Regions from separate parts of the Homo sapiens genome. Here region 2 is linked to region 1. Evidence: promoter capture Hi-C in 16 types of primary human blood cells and fetal thymus (Javierre and others, 2016). All regions are on one chromosome and are shown on one strand. The core of a region is centred on a gene start or on the middle of the fragment in contact, and the rest is flanking DNA. Distances in the headings are between cores, read along the strand shown. Region 1 holds the start of SLC9A8 (solute carrier family 9 member A8). Region 2 overlaps PTGIS (prostaglandin I2 synthase).

Region 1 (3,461 bases), core at 665-3,164:
TGGCTCTGTGCCTGAATCCCAGCCTTGTCATTTGCTAGCTGTGGGACCGCAGGCAAGTGCCTTGATTTCTCTATGTCTGTGGATAATGATGGTATCTACCTCAAAGCTATGTAAAGAATTAAGGAAACAATAGCCCAACACCACACCTGCAGGAAGGAAGCAAGTTTATTATTACTCAATAAACATTGGTGGATCCTGATGACATTCTCTCAGTCAGCTTTAGCAGTCTTAAGAGACTGCAGAGGATGGAGAACCCAAGGTTAGAGCCAGATTTCTTCTCTACCCAGTTCCTCGGGGCCAAAACCCTGACACCATGCTTAACTCCTCTTTTATACGCCATAGTCCGTCAGCAAACCTTGTCTTCAGTATGCGTCCAGGAGTCCAACCATTCCTGCCACCTCCACCGTATTACTTTCATCCAGACTGCCATCAGCTGTCACCTAGATTATTGCAAAAGCCTCCTTGCTGGCTTTGGGGCTTCCATCCTCTCTCTCTCGCCAATCCCCAGTCAACTCCCAACAGGCAGCAAAGCTTAGGTTACTTCTCAGTTCAAAACCCTTCTAGGTGTGCTAGAATTAACTGATTTATTTACTCAATGATTATTTATTATTGAGTGTCTACTATGTGCCAGGTACTGTTGTAGGCATTGCAGATAAAATGGAGAACAAAACAGACAAAAATTTCTGCATTCATGAAGCTTCCGTTCTCATGGAGGGAGATGGTTAACAAACAAGTGTATGAGTAAAACATATGGTAGGTTAGGTGTCATGTGGAAAAATAGTTTAGGGAAGGCGGGGGGCCTTGGATTTTAAGTAGGGTGGTCAAGGAGGTCTAACACACAAGATAAGGGTTAAATAAAAGGCCAAACGTAGGAGAGGTGGGAGCCAAAGAGCTACCCAGAAGAAGAGCATTCTAGATAAAGGCTCAGTAAGTGCAACGGTGGAAGTATTCCTGGTGAGTCTGGGACAATAGTGGAAAGTCAAAGTGTGTGGGAGGGGAGATATAGAGCCCCATGCCCCCCTCCCACACACTTCAGAGGGGAAAAGGGGGCAGGATTGAGTCCTGTACATTCCCCACGTTTTTTTTTTCTCTGGAGATTGGAAGCCATTGGAGGGTCTAAGCAGAGGAGTGATGAGTTAAGCTGCTGTGTGGAAGTCCGTAAGGAACAGGGGTGAGTCAGAGACCCTGAATGGAGCCGTTGCAATTATCCAGATGAGATAGAGTGCCTTGGATCAGGAAGGGAGGTAGCAACAGAAGCGGCCAATAAAGTTCAAAGTCCTCAGCCCCAGTCCTCCCGATGGGGGTCTCACCTACCCCTCTCACCTCACCTTGTTCCTCCCTGCATCCCCACCCCACCGGTCACTGCTAGGCACATAGAAGCATCTACTAAGCATGTGGTGAATCAATGAACCCCTTAATGAATGGTCCACCCCTAGATCATCAGCATCCTTTTTAACGCTAGGCATATAGTCTGAACTCAACACATGTTTACAGATGGAATGCTGCACAGTCCTGCCAAGTCCAGGCGGTTATTCCTCTCCACAGCCGAAGGAAACTAAGGCTCGGGTGGGGAAGTGTCCCCCTGGGGTCTCTCCGCTTAGGCTGCAGGCTGGGCATCCTTTTTCAAACTCTTTTAGCACAGCGAAGTCGAGGGCACTGGGTGGAGGGTGCTTGCTTGCCCTCAGGGTGAGTCACAGTGACCTCAGAGGAGTTTCCCCAAAACGTCCCCGCCCTGTGATGGGGAAAAGCCGGAATCTCTCGGTCCCAGGTGGTCATGTGGCCCAGGCCGGACAAGCGTCCCGAAAGCCCCGGGAGAGACTAAGAAGCAATCCTCCCACGCGCTTTCTCCCACCCTCGGGCCACTGAGACGGAGGGACAGAGGGCCGCCCTCGCGCGGCCGAGGCCCCGCCTCCCGCTCGCCCGCCCGCGCCTCCAGCGGAAGCCGGAAGCAAAAGCGGGTCCTGCTAGCCCCGCGGCTCCGAACTCGGTGGTCCTGGAAGCTCCGCAGGATGGGGGAGAAGATGGCGGAAGAGGAGTGAGTGGGCTTTTTCCCGGGCGGCGGAGGCGGCGGGGCTGGGCCCCGGCGGGTGACAGCGAGCGCCTCAGGCCGCCCTCCGGCCCCGGAAGGCGGAGCTTCTTTTGCTGGTTGGCCAGGACTGACCAAGCCGGTGCCTACGAGGAGGGCGGGATGGGCGGGCCTGGGCCCAGGTGGGCCTTGCTTTCCCCTGGAGATCGGTCCCTCGAGCTGGGAATCTACTGCCCAGCGCAGGCCCGGAGAGCTGTCTTGCGGAAAATACAAACCATATTTACTTTCCCAGTTTTCGGTAATCTCATGGTTACTGAGCCCTCTTCCGCCTCCTCCAGGAAGTCGTCCGGGTTCTCCACACCCACCTCCTACGTAGCCAGTCGCCTCCTGTATAACGATCAGTTTTCATGTCTTTCTCCTTCACTAAGTTTCATTTAGTCATTAACTGTTAGCCATCTACTCAATTCCAGGCCCTGGGCAGGTGGTAGGAAAGGAGGCCGACCAGGAGCCGCTCTCTGGGAGCTTCCATTCTAGTGGGAAAAGAAGACCATAATTAGTCAAGGTGGTTTCAGATCGTGATTAATTAACGTTATTTGTGCCTAGTGTTCCATTATTGGAACGCTAAGCATGTGGGAGTTATTTATATCCTACTGCTCAAGGTCATCGCCAAGGTCTGATTTTTCTCACGTCTGCAGTTCTAAAAATTGCAACCTCTGGCATGAATGGGTTAAGTGTTCTGAAGGAAGCAAAATAGAGTTAAGGTTGGGGAGTCCACTCAGGAAAAAGTGACATTCAGCAGAAACTTGAATGACCAGAATGAGGGATAGGAGAAATAACATCAGGTTCAAAAGGCCTGGCTCAAGAAAGAGTTTAGTGCTTTTGAGTGACAGGCAGCATGGCTGGTGTGTAGAGAGGAAGGGGGTTAGCTGGACAAGGGGAGATGGGGAAGGACGGGCTGTGTCCTCCAGGTACTTTTGGGCAAGTCCAAAAGTCATCTCCATACCTGCAGGGCAGAGTCTGTTGCAGATTGTAGATGCCCTATCACTGTTTGTGGAATGAGTATGTGAAGATGAATAAGGAACCCCTTCATTGATACTGGAGTCCTTCACCTGATAACTTTTCAAATATATTTCTTGGCCATGTGGGGGTCATTTCATGTAATCAGTTATTTATTGAGCAGCTGCTCCATCCCAGACACTAAACAGCCTCAGCAGCACAAAATAAAAGAGGCAATATAGCCCAGCGATTTCAAGTTTGGGTTTTCAGCTTGATTCTGCCACTAACTGAGATGTTGGTGAAGTTTTGCAACCTCCCTGAGCCTTAGTTATGCATGAGTAAAAAACGGAAAGTAATCATACCCAATCAGACATGTTATACCTATTAAATGAGAGGTAGTGTGTTACCTAGTTCCTGGAATAAAGCAGTGCTCAGAAAA
Region 2 (3,461 bases), core at 405-2,904, 270 kb before region 1:
ATAAAAACTGGACTATTGATCCATACAACAACCTGGATGAATCTCCCAACATCAAGTTGAGTGAAAGAAGCCAGGCATAAAAGGGCACATACTGTGTGATTCCATTTCTAGGAAGCTGAAGAATAGGCAAAACTAATTGGAGGTAAAAGAAACCAGTCCAGTGGCTACCTCGCAGGGGTGAATACTGGCTGGGAAAGAGCATAAAATGTTTAGATCCACTTCTCAGTGCATTTATTTATTTATTTATTTATTTATTTATTTATTTATTTAAGACAGAGTCTGGCTCTGTCACTCAGGCTGGAGTGCAGTGGCGTGATCACAGCTCACTGCAACCTCCAACTCCCAGGTTCAAGCTATTCTGCCTCAGCTTCCCGAGTAGCCAGGAATGCAGGCACCCGCCACCATGCCTGGCTAATTTTTGTATTTTTAGTAGAGATGGGGTTTCACCATGTTGACCAGGCTGATCTCAAACGCCTGACTTCAAGTGATCCGCCCACCTCAGCCTCCCAAAGTGCTGGGATTACAGGTGTGAGCCACTGCACCTGGCCTCTCAGTGCGTTTAGATGTGTGTGCTTTCCTGTATATAAATTATACCTCAGTAAAAAACAAGAAGTTAAAAGCTTCAAAAATAAAATAAAAATAAAAATAACACACATCTGTGTGTCTGTTTAGAGAAAGTGCTCCCAGGATGTACTCCAAGCTAGTGATGGTGGTTGCCTCTGTAGAGGGAAGTGGTGGGCTGAGGCTGGGGAGAAAGTGGAGCGCTCTTTTATTCTTCCCTGTAAATTATTCTATATGGCTTGAATTTTTTATAATCAGCACGAACTACTTGTAAAAACTTTTAAAGCAACTCAAACCTTAAAACACAAAAAGGAACACACACACACACAGAGATTCTCCAGCCCCACTCTAAATGTGCTGAATCAGAATTTCCACCAGGAACCCAAGCTCTGGTCCAAGCCCTGGCTCCCCACCATTGCGCTCTTGCATACCCCCAGTGATGGGGATCTTACTGCCTCCCTGGGCATTGGATGTCTTTCTGCCTGTGTTGCCTCTGGTCCTCTACCTTGAATTGGGCTCCCCCTCTGGGTCTTTCCATCCTCCCCCCCACCCACTGGGGCCCCCATGGTGCTTACCCACTGACAGGGAGCCACGGGCCAGTTTGGGGAGCAGCCGGTCGAGCTGGCGAAAGGTGTGGAAGACATCAGCTGAGTGGACGCGGTCCTGGGCCTGGCTTTCATGGGTGCGTGGCAGCGCCTCAATTCCGTAAAGAGTCAGGTAGCCGGCTCTGGGGGCGGCAGACAGAGGGTCAGGGGTCCTCCTGGGACACTCATGTGTGGCCACAGCTACTCACAAGAGCTTCATTCATACACCCAGTGAGCAACTACTAATCCTACTGTGCGCCAAAGACCATTCTGGGCACTGAACAGTCGGCAGTGAAAAAAACAAAAATCCCTGTCCTCAAGGAGCTGACCTCTCAGCACAGGGAGACAGACAACAGACGAGAGGATGAGTAAAATGAATAATGCGCCAGCTGGTGCCCCGCGGCACTGTCAGACACAAAGCTGGGTAGCAGGATGGGAGGGCGGGGGCTGTGGTGTCAGGTGCCAGGTGAGGGAGGGGCTGGTGTCAAGCTGACAGCTGAAGGCTGAGAAGGAGTCAGCCATGGGCAGAGCAGAGGGAGGGGTAGGAAGCAGAGCAAGCACCAGGTGTGATGTCCTGGGGCAGGAGGGAGCCCGGTGCTGGGGAGCAGCAAGGAGGCTGATGAGGCTGCAGCAGAGAGCTCGAGGGGACGGTGCTGAGATGGGGGCACAGAGAAGGGGAGGAGATGCCTGCTCCCAGGGAGGGATTCAGGGAAGACTTCCTAGAGAAGGGAGGGTCTGAGCTGAGATCTGCAGGATGATCGGGGGAAGCAGAAGAGGAACGTGTTCAGGCAACAGGCACAGCCTGTGCAAAGGCCCAGAGCTGAGAGTGCAACCGTGCCTGGTGGGAGAGGTGCCAGCTGTGGCTGGTGCAGGCACTGGAGCCGGGGTGTGAGGCAGAGGATGGGAGGGCCTGGGCTGTCAGGGCTGGCCACGCAAGGCAGGCATTTGCAGCAGTGAGAAGGTTGTGCTTGATCTGAGGGGCTCTGGGAGGCCCGAGAAGGAGGTCAGGGCCTGGTCAAGTGTGAAAAAGGGTAAGACATGGGAGCTAGCATGAGCTCTCATGTGCTCTCACTGAGGCACACTTACGCACACGCACACGCACACACACAGGACCACGCTCAGAGGACGCGCCTTCACCTCCAGCCCCCTTTAAATGCCCCAGGAGTCCAGCCCCAGCCCAGCGGGCTGACCTCAGTCCTGGGAGGGAAACTGCAGGCTTTCATTTTGTCATCTCTGCCTCAGCAGAGAGTCACAACAAAGAGACGCAACCAAAGCCCCGGGGCCTCACCCTCTCACCCTCCCCTTGAGCTCCTGGATCCCTGTGCAGACAAAGACCAGAGACCAGGATCTCTCAGGAGAGGGGTTTTCCCAGATGAAGAGAGAATGGAAGCAGGAATGAGGGTAGGTGGGGGCCGAGAGAGGCCTGCGTGGTCCCTGCTCTGTCCCTCACCTGCACAGTGGTGGCAGAAGTTGTAAAGGTGCAGCCCACACACTGGATTCAGTCCACAAATGTGTTTTATCAAGGGAGTTCCTAAAAACAAACTAAAGCTTCCTTCAAACATTTGGGGAAACTCACACAAAATCCGGATTTCCTGCTCATCTCATCTTGAAAAAGGAATCTGGCTGACCTGCGGTCCCACCTGGAAACCTAGCAGGAGCAGAGTTGCAGCCGCCCCTTTTAGACAGACACGTGCTTGCCAGGCCACTGCGGTACTCCCAAGGCCCTGTGGTCTCGGTGACACTGCAGTTGACACTGGTCATCATTTATCATCACACTTGCACTGTTGTTTTTTGCTAACTCAGAGAACCATTTCCCGGTACATATATTTCTACCAAAACAGGCAATGAAAAATAAACCAAAAAAGTAAACCGGCCGGGAGAGGTGGCTCACGCCTGTAATCCTAGCACTTTGGGATGCCGAGGTGGTTATATCACCTGAGGTCAGGAGTTCGAGACCAGCTTGGCCAACATGGTGAAACCCCCTCTCTACTAAAAATACAAAAATTAGCTGGGCATGGTGGCGGCACCTGTAGTCCCAGCTACTCAGGAGGCTGAGGCGAGAGAATCGCTTGAATCTGGGAGGCGGAGGTTGCAGCGAGCAGAGATCGCGCCATTATTGCACTCCAGCCTGGGCGAAAGAGCGAAACTTTGTCTTTAAAATAAAATAAAATAAAATGAAGGAAAAGAAAACAAAAAGAAAAAGTAAACCCAGAGGACCACAAGGTTTTGCTCTGTGGAAGCGAAGCCGGCAGCTCCATATCAAAAGAGCACGGCTGAAGACAGGATAATCCCATATGTAAATACACACACGACCCA

The links. The method cuts DNA at HindIII sites, captures the fragments that hold promoters and counts their contacts. A CHiCAGO score of 5 or more calls a contact.
Region 2: a contact is called between a fragment that was not itself captured here and the fragment with the promoter of SLC9A8 in region 1, in 4 of 17 cell types (endothelial precursors, M2 macrophages, M1 macrophages and 1 more). The highest score is 10.2, in endothelial precursors.

Annotation. Positions count from the first base shown.
Region 1 is chr20:49,810,914-49,814,374 of GRCh38, forward strand. SLC9A8 (solute carrier family 9 member A8) reads left to right here and starts at 1,915. Exons shown (of 16, transcript NM_015266.3): 1 at 1,915-2,035. The coding sequence starts at 2,010. RefSeq lists an enhancer at 1,594-1,733 and a silencer at 1,884-2,163. The HindIII fragment of the contact is 7,464 bases long and covers 696-3,461 here.
Region 2 is chr20:49,538,434-49,541,894 of GRCh38, forward strand. It overlaps PTGIS (prostaglandin I2 synthase), which reads right to left. Exons shown (of 10, transcript NM_000961.4): 5 at 1,137-1,288. Among named protein-coding and RNA genes, the nearest start is that of PTGIS, 28 kb to the right of the region's middle. RefSeq lists an enhancer at 3,368-3,417. The HindIII fragment of the contact is 2,073 bases long and covers 619-2,691 here.